2 separate regions of the Homo sapiens genome follow, and region 1 is linked to region 2. The links are contacts of gene promoters, found by promoter capture Hi-C in blood cells and fetal thymus (Javierre and others, 2016). All regions are on one chromosome and are shown on one strand. Each heading gives the region's core, a stretch centred on a gene start or on the middle of the fragment in contact. The rest is flanking DNA. Distances are from core to core; before and after follow the strand shown.

What was found. The method cuts DNA at HindIII sites, captures the fragments that hold promoters and counts their contacts. A CHiCAGO score of 5 or more calls a contact.
Region 1: a fragment that was not itself captured here is called in contact with the fragment with the promoter of AEN in region 2 in 1 of 17 cell types (erythroblasts); the score reaches 7.8 in erythroblasts.

What each region holds. Positions count from the first base shown.
Region 1 is chr15:85,702,360-85,707,935 of GRCh38, reverse strand. All of the region lies in intron 17 of AKAP13 (A-kinase anchoring protein 13), which reads right to left. Among named protein-coding and RNA genes, the nearest start is that of LINC02883, 54 kb to the left of the region's middle. RefSeq lists an enhancer at 279-588 and a silencer at 2,955-3,084. The HindIII fragment of the contact is 4,594 bases long and covers 451-5,044 here.
Region 2 is chr15:88,618,593-88,625,071 of GRCh38, reverse strand. AEN (apoptosis enhancing nuclease) reads right to left here and starts at 3,732. Exons shown (of 4, transcript NM_022767.4): 1 at 3,690-3,732. RefSeq lists enhancers at 1,002-2,201, 3,688-3,847, 3,177-3,850, 3,851-4,524 and a silencer at 3,478-3,667. The HindIII fragment of the contact is 13,176 bases long and covers 1-6,479 here.

The DNA.
Region 1 (5,576 bases), core at 1,498-3,997, 2.9 Mb after region 2:
TCTGAATTTCAAAGTGAAGTCACTCACATGTGAGAATGTGACTGAAATTACACACTGCAGTCCTCTTCTAGGAAGCAGGTCTGTGATGTTATTTGGAGGAGGAAAAACACGAGCAGATGTGATTTTTTTTTTTTCGGTGTTTGTGTCTTTATTTGGAGACCAGGAGACAGATTACAGCTTAATGAGAGGAACAACGACTCAAGTGATCTGATGGGAAGGGTGAGTTTCCTGGCCCTTAGGAAGCAACAGATGTGATTTCTAATCAACAAAAACTAGTAAGTCTGGAACTTTTCAGACAGGAAGCTGAGAGGCTACCAAAACTAAAAGTGAAAGTGTCTGCCATCAATGTGTAAGTCTAAATTACAAATAAATACATTAATAAAGCCCCTAACAGGGGTTACAAAATTTGTATGACTGTAATAAAGCACAGAATATAAAATCTGAAAAGCTTAACTACGCTGGGCTTTTTGCACCCCATTCTCTGAGACAGGAACCACACATGAAAGGTCACTGGAACCCCCACATGCACCTCTGGGAACTGTGACTTAAGAGAAAATGGAGACTTCTTGAAAGATAAAGCAGAAACCACAATTTGGCAAGGACAGCATTTTATCTCAATTCCTTTACTTTTCACTCCCTTGGCCTACAAGGGCCACTGACGTAAAAACCCAAGCCTCTGTGTCTCAGAAGGCTTACCATCAGCTCTCAGCGCTGCTATAAAGTCACATAACAGAACTGTTCCAGGAAGCCAGAGGTAAAGCAGAAACAAATGAAAGATCGGCCTGTGGGGACACTCGAGGAGACACTCTCATGGGAAGGGCTCACTCAGGAAATCAACCACAGATACCATTCACTAGGCAATGCCTCACAGACTGATTCAGGAAGCATCACAGGTCCTGTCTACATCAACTCACCAGTTAAGGGCCAACATCTCTTTTGGGCCAACATCTCTTTTAGCCCAGACACATGGATTTGTGGGGGACTGGAGTGATGATGGGGAGGGAAGGAAACCAGAAAGGAGACTGCTAGAATCCCAGACCTCAAAGGCCTATTCCATGCCTTTTGTAACACTTCCTTTAACACCCACTTGGTTCACAGGTCTCCTCCTTAATACCACTGGCACAGTGTATTGAGACTCTCTTAGGTTTTTCTCTATCCCCTCTCTGGGGCAGGGACCATTCACCCACTGCTGAATCTTCAAATTAAGACTCTCCAGCATAGTGCCTAGCTCATGCATCCTATTCAAATGCTCCTCTCTCGGCCCTACTATGCCTATTTAAACTAAAATTAGATGAATGCGCTGACACAGCCTTGATTACAGTATGTCAAACATCAATTTAGTAACACAAAAGGACAAACAGCTGTCAAACTAAATTTGACGTAGGTCCTGGCTCTGCATGTATGTATGTACTAGTATGACCCTAGTCCCTTCTTGACAGGCCTCCGTTTCCTCATCTATAAAATTAAAAAGGAGGAATCACATTTTCCCCCAGGTTCCCTCTGCTGTGATTCTATCAGATGGGTAAGTGAGTTTCAGGCTGCTGGACCCACAGCAAGAAGCATAACAAAGTGGTCGAGGCAAACGGCTTTATTTATTTTCTAGTAAGCCAAAACATGTTTCTGCCCATCCTCACGAGCACTATTCTTACTCAGGGTGTATGGTGCACCTCCCCTCCTCTGCCACAGAGATGCCCAGGACTTGCAGCTGGCATGCTCCTTTCTGGTTTCTTCCTCTCCCATTAGTTGATCCATCATATCCTTCCCATGCACAGACTTGAAAGCCCACCCCACTCAAACCCTTTCTCTTCACAAATCCCCACTCAGCTAAAGTCTTTCAAATACATCATCTTTAAGTCCATTTCTCTTTCCCTTCTACAGAAAAAGTATAAAAAGACTATGAAAAGGCAAAGTCAATGATTAGTAGATCTATGTTTTTCAGCGTGCTGAATCCTCAATATATAATGCTGAAGAGAATAAAGCAAATTACAAAAAGAGGTACTGTATGGTAGTATTTATGTAGGTTAAAAACAAAAACAAATTATATGTTGTTTATGTATGAAAATAAATTATAAAACACAGACTACGAATGCACTGAATTCATGACAGTCCTTGTCCTTGGGGAGGAAGGAAGATGCATGGGGCAGGGAAACAAAGGGGAATCTGAACTTAACCATAATGGTTTCTTAAAAAGTGAAACAATCTGAAGCCGTCTGACAGAATGTTACTATGTGTTCATTCTGAATCATGGACACATATGTGATAAATTACCTATGTATAATACTTTGTATTAACATTTTTCAAAATTAAAAAAAATTTTTAATTTTTAAAAAATCATCACACTCTAATGTCGTTCAAAGTTCCTTGGATTTGCTTATAAACATTTCCATATCCTTTTGCATAATCCATTTATCGCATCTTGTGATAACTTAAAGATAAGATTTTATTGTCTTATAATCCAGTTAAAAAAGTATATTTTTTTTCTTTTGTTTTATTGAAAATCTATAATATTTTAGGCACCTAAGGGCAACACAGGAGGTGGCAGATTTGCTGGAGAACCAGCTACTAATTCTGATCTGCAAAAGTGACCAAGAACACTATGGGCAGAATTTGTTTCCAAGTTCTGTTCTTTCTGTTCCTTTCTTCCCAACCAGTTCCAACACCCTACAGAGATTTAAGCAATGATGATTTTTAAGGGAGTGGCACTATCACGTAAAAAGGTTTCAGCAATATTCAAACTCTCAGGCCAGTGTTTGAGTGTCTGAGATGAACATAGAAGCAGAAAAAAATCATTTAAAATGTGCTTCTAGTAAAGAACTTTTCACATAAATTCACTTTTAATTAATTGAAACATGTCCCCAAACCCACAACCCAGCTGGAAGTTTAACACGCTCTATATTATGGTCATGAGTTTTCTCTTAGTGATAGTTTGCATGGACATCTCCTTAACATGCTGAAGTACCTACTTGAAAAACACTCAACTTGTTTCCAAGTTGTCCTGGACTCAATTCACAGTGACAGTTTTAGAGCTGTGCGTGGGTGATTTAGAAACTTCAGCCCCACTGACATCAGCCAAAGTCATGAGACTAAAATCTTACTCTCTGTTTGGGAAAACAGAAAATTACCAAGAACACAAGAATTGAAGACAAATCTAATACATTTTTAAGCTCTCTGCCACAAACCATACCATGTTGTTATGAAGATCAGAAAATAATTATCTGGCCTTTTATTTATTTATTTGATAGATTTCCTAATAGCAGTAGGCAATATGCTTTCATTTTTTAAAATTCTTCAAAAAGGTCTCAGCACAGTGGTTTATGGGAACAGAGCTGATCCCTAATCGGATTCCTCTGTACCTAAAACAAACAGTCCAGCCTTCAACTTCTTTCTTTGCTACAAGGAGGCATCAAACCAAAGAAAATGAAGTTAAACCCACATGACTGGAAACTATCATCTATCTATTGCTGTATCTTTTTTTTAACCCATGCCACCAACCACCACAGATCTTTGGCGAATGGTTATATACTATGTGTTTTTTATCTTTCGGAAGAAAAATAAAACAAACCATTAGCGAGGCTAACTTAAGAAAATCAACTTTATACAATGATAAGAGGAGTGGCCATGCCAAACTGAAATGAAATGACAGAATATCAAAGGACTGCCTACACAGAAACGAGCCACCTTTGGGAGCTGAGTCATATGCAGCCAAGGCTCTGACAAAAAAGGTCTTCCAGTACTTCAGTTCATTGATCATCACTTGGGAATAGGCTGAAGACTTCTGACTGTTCTGCCTACAGATGTGAGCAGCAAAATCTAACTGGGAAAAATGACCTGATTCTTCTCCAGGACACAAGTTGAGGAATTACCTTTAAGGATAGAAATGCACAACTTTCTCCTATCATTTCAACTCTAACCAAGAAAATGAAAATAAAACAAAAAACAGTTAAATATGAGCAAATTTAGAAATGCATGCTACAAAATTCTTTCTGCAACTTTAAACTTCTTGTTTAAAATCTTTAACAGAGACCCTGTCTCTCAAAAAAAAATTATTAAATATATGTGTGTGTATATATATATATATATATTTTTTTTTTTTGAGATGGAGTCTTGCTCTGTCACCCAAGCTGGAGTGCAGTGGTACGATCTTGGCTCACTGCAACCTCTGCCTCCTGGGTTCAGGTGATTCTGCTGTCTCAGCCTCCTGAGTAGCTGGGATTACCGGTCCATGCCACTACGCCTGACTAATTTTTTGTATTTTTAGTGGAGATGGTATTTCGCCATGTTGGCCAGGCTGGTCTCAAACTCCTAACCTCAGGTGATCCACCCGCCTCAGCCTTCCAAAGTGCTGGGATCACAGGCGTGAGCCACGGCACCTGGCCAATAAATAAAATCTTTGGGGGATTTGAGACATCGCCCTATCTGGACTAAGAGTGCTTATATGCAAAAGGCATGTGAGATGTTCTTGGTAGCTGGTGTAATAACCACAGTGCTGATGTACAGAACAAGAAGAAAGCCACAAAAAAGAGCCAAATCATCTCAGCTGAAGTAGCCCCAGCAGCAGTTTTCGTAACAACACTGGTAAACAAAAATGAAATAAAATGAAAGTATTCTGCTTAAAAAAGAATTGCCTTTATTGCTTAGGGTCTTTTTTTACCTTCCTTTTCCCTAAGTAATAAACTTCCTTCCTTTAATCAACTATATGTATTTTATTCTCTCATATAAGCAATGAACTATAAATGCCAGAAAACTGTCTAGAGGGCAACTTTTCTGATGAAATCAGAAGTAAAATCTAACCATCACACACATTCTAAATTCTTATGTTTCCTACTTAGATTGCAGCTGGTTTACTTGTTTATTTTTTATGTAAAAGAAACAACCTACCACAAAAGTACTGAAATGCTGCTAGCACAACAGAAAATAAATCAGCAATAATCTCAGTATCATTTTACATCTGTTTAAAGCAAGCAAAACAGAACCACTGGCAAGACCCCAAAACCTGAACATAACAAATTCCTTATTCTGAAAGACCCCACTAAGTCACTAAGCTTTTCAAAGAACAAATTATTTGTGGCAGCTGGAAAGAACAGCTGACTATTCAAGGACAGCTTTACATAATAGAGAAATAAGAGTTGAAAAGACATTCCTCTATTAACCCTGTTAAAGTCACCTAATCCTAAAGCAAGAGTAGCGTTTTGGCTGAGATAAAAAGTCCCAGTTTCTTGTATAAACCATCATAACATATCATCATGATGGACTATATGGCTGATCTTTCTAACCACAAGTCAAAGGTGACTATGCAGTGCTGAGGGTATGAAGCTCTATCCAGGGGTCAGCCAAACAGGGTTACACTTAACCACAATGGGAAGCCACTGTCTCCTAAGAGCACAAAGGTTTCCTAGGAGGTAAACGACTAACTGCATGGATGCTACATTTCCTACGACTCCTGGGAAGATCCTGGACATGAGACGCGATGGAGGGAAGTGACGAAAGATTCTGCGTCCCCAAATTACTCATATTTTCTACTTCCTGCCAAGATAACACATGGGACTTCCTACATACAAACATTCAGCTTCTTCAGG
Region 2 (6,479 bases), core at 2,483-4,982:
CATTGCTGCTACAGGAAATGTCTGATGTTCATGTGAGTTTGCAAAACCCAGCATCTTCCCAACAGCTGAGGCCATAACTTGGAAAGCCTGTCTCATTTGTTATGCCAAGTCAGTCAGTACATTTTTAACAGATCAAACAAACTAGGGCTTTGAAGTCAGGCAGAGCAGGGTTTAACTTGGCATTTTTTGAGGCGGAGTTTCGTTCTCGTTACCCAGGCTAGAGTGCAGTGCCGTGATCTCGGCTCACTGCAACCTCCGCCTCCCGGCTTCAAGCGATTCTCCTGCCTCAGCCTCCTGTGTAGCTGGATTACAGGCATGCACCACCACGCCTGGCTAATTTTTGTATTTTTAATAGAGGTGGCGTTTTGCCATGTTGGACAGGCTGGTCTCAAACTCCTGACCTCAGGTGATCCACCTGCCTTGGCCTCCGAAAGTGCTGGGATTACAGGCGTGGGCCACCATATTCGGCCTAACTCAGCTCTTTGTAAATGACCTAAACTGCTAAGTTTCAGTTTTCAGGCATGTAAAATGATCCTACCACCCCCTCTACTGTGTGAAGAGGAAACGACACAATGTATGCTGGGGTCTTCCTGTATTCTGAACAGTAGGGGCTCAATAACCACTGCTCCTTCTCCCAGAGAGGTTAGACTCTAGCCCGTGGTTGGCAGCCAGCTCTTCTCAGGCCAGAGCAGCCTCCGCCTGGACTCACTGCCCTTTCCCAAGCCACAGCCTCCCTTCCCACTCACAGCCCTCCTGCTCTTTCAGACTCAGCTACTGTTCCGCCACCACCCAGAAGCCCTTCTGGAAGAAACTCTGTCCCACTGGGTTGCACAGGCCAATGCCATACTGAGGCTCTCTCGGGTCTCCACTGTGCCAGATGCTGGGCGGCTGCACAGGTGGATCCTGGACTCCAAGAAGTTTAGTTTCATGGTGGAGACAGAAACCAAGCATAAAGTGTGTTAAGGGCTGAAGCAGAGGTGCTAGGGAGGCAAAACAGGCTGGAGGACAATTCTCTGGAGGCTTCCTGGAAGAGGCTACATCTGTGTGCATGTACAACAGTAACCTTCCAGGTAGAAGGGAGAAGAATCAGTGGCCATGTTAGGGGCAAAGGCCTTAAAAAGGACTAACCCAGGGTGGAGGAAGAGGGCCCACCAGCAGCCTCAAGTCACTGGGGTGTAGAGCATAAGGCGGGTCATGCTGGAGGCACTGCTCCTCGCTCCTCTCTCCTTTGCACCATTTCATCTTCTGTTTCCTACTCTGGTGGCCCTTCCACAAGCCACCCCTACCGCAATCTGGTGTCCCCTGAATTGGTCTCTACTGGCCAAGTGAGTGGGGGAGCCCCAGAGGCACCTATGGAGGTCACTGAAATATCCCACAGTAGCCCTGACTCAGGACACTAAGTCTAGCTGGGGAGCAAAGAAATTCATCCCTCTGTGCTGAGCTCTTATAGCACAATTTGAGAATTATTACACCCTTCAAAGTCCATTGGTACACACAGTCTACCTCAGAGCTGTAAGAAGGCAGGTTAGAGCCTTGATTGTACCTTCCCCAACAGCCAGCCTAGAAGCTAGCATGTGGCAGGTCCTCTTCAGAAGGGTGTAGAAAGAGGTCTGGAGAAGATGAAAACCTGAGCAGTAGCAGCAGAGATTAAGAGAAATGGGAAGGGGATGGGAGGTGAGGTGAAATGCCAGGTTTGATGATGCCAGCATTTGCATAAAGAATCCCCACACTCTAGGGCAGGGCACCGCATCCTGACTTGACTCATCCAGACCTGACCCATCCTGACTCATCCACCCTGCTTGCTCATCCCATCCTTTCCAGGAGAAAAGGTCTCTCTTTTAAAAAGGTCTTAACTGTAACCAACTTCCTCATATTGACAGTCACATCTTAGAACTGACAAATTCAGAACCTTAATCTGCCTCAGCCCAGCAATGGGAGAAAAAAGCCTAAGAAGCCCAATGCCCACCCTGCTAATAACTAATTTGGGAAAGGGGGCTGGCGGATAGTCCCCTCCTTTCTCTGTGAGGGGCTGAGGCTAGGAGTAGGGTGGGTGGCTTTCCTGATCCTACTGGCAAGGTTTTAAAGAAGCCAGAAATTAAGTTATCTGAGAAAAGGTCTCTGTAGCCTCCTATTTCAAGAGAGGAAAGTAGTCCTTTTCCAAACACCCTGACCTTGCTTAAGAGAAGAGAGAAAGAGACCTCCCCCTCATATTGTTCTGTATTATTTTATACTCAGTACCTGTTTTAAGAAGAAACAAGGAAGCAAAACCAAAGGCAGGCAGCCCGGCGCCACGCACCAGACCCAAAACCAGACCCAAAACCAGGCCTGGGCCTGCCTGACCTTAGCCTGATAGTTAAAATTAAACCCATGACCTAGCAACCGATGTTATCCATAGATTTCAGACATTGTATAGAAGGACACTGTGAAATCTCTTGTTCTGTTCTGTTCTGTTTCACTCTGACTACCGGTGCATGCAGTCCCTGTCACATACCCCCTAGATTGCTCAATCAATCATGGCCCTTTCTTGTAAAATCTTTAGTGTTGTGAGTCCTTAAAAGGGACAGAAACTGTGCACTCAACAAGCTCGGATTTTGAGATGCTAGTCTGCCGATGCTTCCAGCTGATTAAAAGCCAATTCCTTCACTACCTCTGTGGGGTTTTGTCCGCGGCTCCTCCTGCTACATGCTGACACGTCAAAACCAACAGTCATCAAGGACACACCTCTTTGGGGACCCAAATGTAGCTCAGTGAAGCTGGAGAGAAGTTCCGCTCAGATAAAACAACCCTTTCAACAAGGACAAACACAAGCCTTTCTCTAGCCTGGACCCAGCGCTCTGGGGGTCAGACACCCGGCCTTCAGGCAGGGAGGGGGTCTGGCCTAAAGAAAGGGTCCCAGCTGCAGAGTCAATGGAGCAAAGGCCCCAAAGGAACCAAGAAGTCAGAATCCTCGGTGGCATGAGAGCCACCAACCTGCTGGCTGATCAAGAGGGCAGAGGGCAGTTCTAGACCCTCCTCTGGCACTAAGTAGCTAGATGATCTGGGGCAAGTCACGTCTCTTCACCATCAACCGAGGGCTGTGAATTAGATAAGGGCTTCCCAAATGTAGTTAATTACCATATGACATCTGATGAAAGGCTGATTTTCAGGCCCACTCCCACACCGTCCTAATTGCTATTTTGGGGAAAGGGGCCTGAGAATCTAGATTTTTAAAAAGAGCGCGGACGACCCCTACCCTCAAGCCACAATTCTGATAATCGCCCAAACCTGAAAAAACCTGGCTCGATAAGGTCCCCTGTGCTGCTAAAAAGTCCACGGAACAACGACAACAACTAAAGTCTGCTATCCTGGCACGACCTCCCCGCCGGCTGGCGTTCTCCCAGGCGTGACGCGTGGGAGGCCTGATCTCACCGGGAAGGACTCGGGCGTTGGTCACTTGCTGGCCGCGGCAGCTGGGCCGAGTCCCAACGACCAGCGCCGCCCCCTCTGGCCCTGGACCCCCGAGCAGAGCGAGGGCTGGAGACAGGCGGCGCCCGGCCTGCTTTTCTGCGGGCCGGTAGGGCAGGGTCAGCCCAGTTCAGGCGTCCCCGCCGCAGGCCGGGGCGGAAACAACGCGCGGGGACCTGCGACCCGGGACACGCGGCCTCAGCCCGCCCGACCCCGCCGCCCCGGTGCAGGGTCCTGGATCTCACCTGAAGCCCCGCGTGTCTCTTCCGGTCTGCACGTGGCGTCCGGAAAGCCGGCAGCTCCCACATGCCCGGGCAAGCCCGGCTCCGACTGCCCGCCTATTGGCTCGCTGGACGGCAGCGCCCGCCCAAGACCTCTTCTGATTGGTCGAGCCTGCCTGGCAGCGGGGAGGCGGGCGAGAGCAGAAGGGGAGGGACTCCTGAAGAGGGCGTAACTCGTGCTGCGAGCCGGCCATACTGGCGGGAAATTTTAAAGAGAAGGGAAGGGAGACTGACCTCCTGTCGTCCCTGCCCGGTCCCATCAGTGTTCCCCGGCTCCAATCCACTCCTCTACCTGGGTCGGGATGTGGGCTCCTGTAAGCCTGGTACCACCAAAGGCCGAATGACTTACTGAGTACACCCACATCTGCAGATTGGGAACATCGGCCCTTACCTCCTCGGGTGTTCTGGGATTCAAGGAAATAATATACACAGTAGGCACTAAAGAGAGACTTTGAAAGTCAGGTTTCCTCCGTCAGCGCTGCTTTTTCATTTATTCTTTTGCAACACTTGACTCCTAAGTATTAAGTTCCTACGTGGGCTTGGCAGTGGGATGCACACAATAAACACATAAGCATCCTGAGTTGTTTATCTAACAGCAGGGAAACAGCAAGGTTAACAGAAAATTCAGTGCAACATGAGGCCGGGGCGCGGTGGCTCACGACTGTAATCCCAGCACTTTGGGAGGCCGAGGCAGGTGATCACCTGAAGTCAGGAGTTTGAGACCAGCCTGACCAACATGAAACCCCATCTCTCCAAAAATACAAAAATTAGCCGGGCGTTGACGGGAGCCTGTAATCCCAGCTACTCGGGAGGCTGAGGCAGGAGAATCGCTTGAGCCCAGAAGGCGGAGGTTGCAGTGAGCCGAGATCGCGCCATTGCACTCCATCCAGCCTGGGCACCAAGAGCAAAACTCCGTCTCAAAAAAAAAGAAAGAAAGAAAGAAAGAAAATTCAGTGTAACATGAGTAATAACAAGAACAATAATAAACAGTTCACACGTATTATGTGAGCACGAATGATGTGCCAGGCAAAATACTCAGTTAATTTGTACAATGACCTTACTATTATTTCAGTTTTACAGTTAAGGAAATTGACACTTAAATTAAGGAGAAACACCTAGAATCCAAAGATCCTTACCTAAGCAGTCTGACTTCTCTTAGTTCACATTTTGCAAGCAGAAGTGATTTGGAAACGTACCTGTGATGAGAAATAAGCTAGGAGCTCTTTCTGATGGGAGTACAAATTTGAGGGAAGCAGGACAAGGGATGAGGTCACAAGAGAGATCAATCCTTTTACCCAGGCCCCTGAAGGCTTTGGGGAGGCAGAGGGATTTAAGCCATAGATAGTTTACCAGTGAATCTGCATTTGAAAAAACTTGTTCTGGCTGCAGCATAGAGAGGAATGGATGAGGACTGGAGAAAGGAGTGGGGGAGTGTTTGTGGAAATTTGGAAGATCATGATGTCCAGAGTGGTGTGGAGGATAAAGAGCTCCCCACCTAAGTAGCATTTGAAATGACAGATTCAAATGCTACTTAGGAGGCAGCGTTGATCAGAGAGCAGAGGGGAAGGGGTTATAGGACAGCGGTCTTCAGGCATGGGGACTGTGGGAGGTAAATCTGGGGCAAGGAGAGTTTTTTTTGTTTTGTTTGTTTTTGTTTTTGAGATGGAGTCTCACTCTGTCACCCAGGCTGGAATGCAGTGGCACAATCTCGGCTCACTGCAACATGTGCCTCCCGGGTTCAAGTAATTTTCCTGCCTCAGCCTCAGGAACAGCTGGGATTACAGGCACGTGCCACCATGCCCAGCTAATTTTTGTATTTTTAGTAGAGATGGGGTTTCACCATGTTGGTCAGGCTGGTCTCGAACTCCCGACCTCGTGATCCACCCACCTTGGCCTCTCAAAGTGCTGGGATTACAGGCGTGAGCCACCACACCCAACCAAGGAGAGTTTTAAGAGAGTCAATATCCAGATCCTCTGCTTCCATGGTGCTGGGCCTCAGAATATGCCTGGGGTCTTTGGGGTTCAGCTTCCCTCTCCTCATGTGTAACCAGCTGTCTCCCACTTTTCAAAGGCAATTCACACTGCACCTGTTCTAAATCTTGCTCTGCTGCATTACCTTGGGAAATAAAAGTCTCCAGGAGAAACAATAGGGCAATTCTAAATAATGTATTAATTATTGTTGAGGACGGGGCAAGAAATCCTTCTACAAGTCAGGTGGTTTCTCATTCTTTGCTTTCACCAAGATCCAAGGAGGATCTAATCATGTTGTTAGGTCATTAAAAACATTTTCTTGAGACCAAGGCTGGAGGACTGCTTGAGGCCAGGAGTTTGAGACCAGCATGGGCAACATAGCAAGATCCTGTCTTCACAAAAATAAATAAATGTGGAGGTGTGTGCCTACAGTCCCAACTACTGGGGAGGCTGAAGTGGGAGGATCCCTTGAGTCCAGGAGTTAGAGGTTACAGTGAGCTATGATTGAGCCACTGCACTCCAGCCTGGGTGACAGAGCCAGACAGACCCTGTCTCCAGTAAACAAATAAATGAATAAATAAATAAATACATGAGTATAGATAATTATCAGGAATTTAAAAGAAGTGGGAGAATTGCCAGACTAAAACCCTTCCCATTTCTCTATGGTTTTAATGTAAACAATGTTTATCAGGCTTACAACTATAAAATCAAAACAACAGACTCACCTCTGTCTCATTCTTACAAAAAGTGATACTCATCTCTGGACTCACAAATTTATGGAAA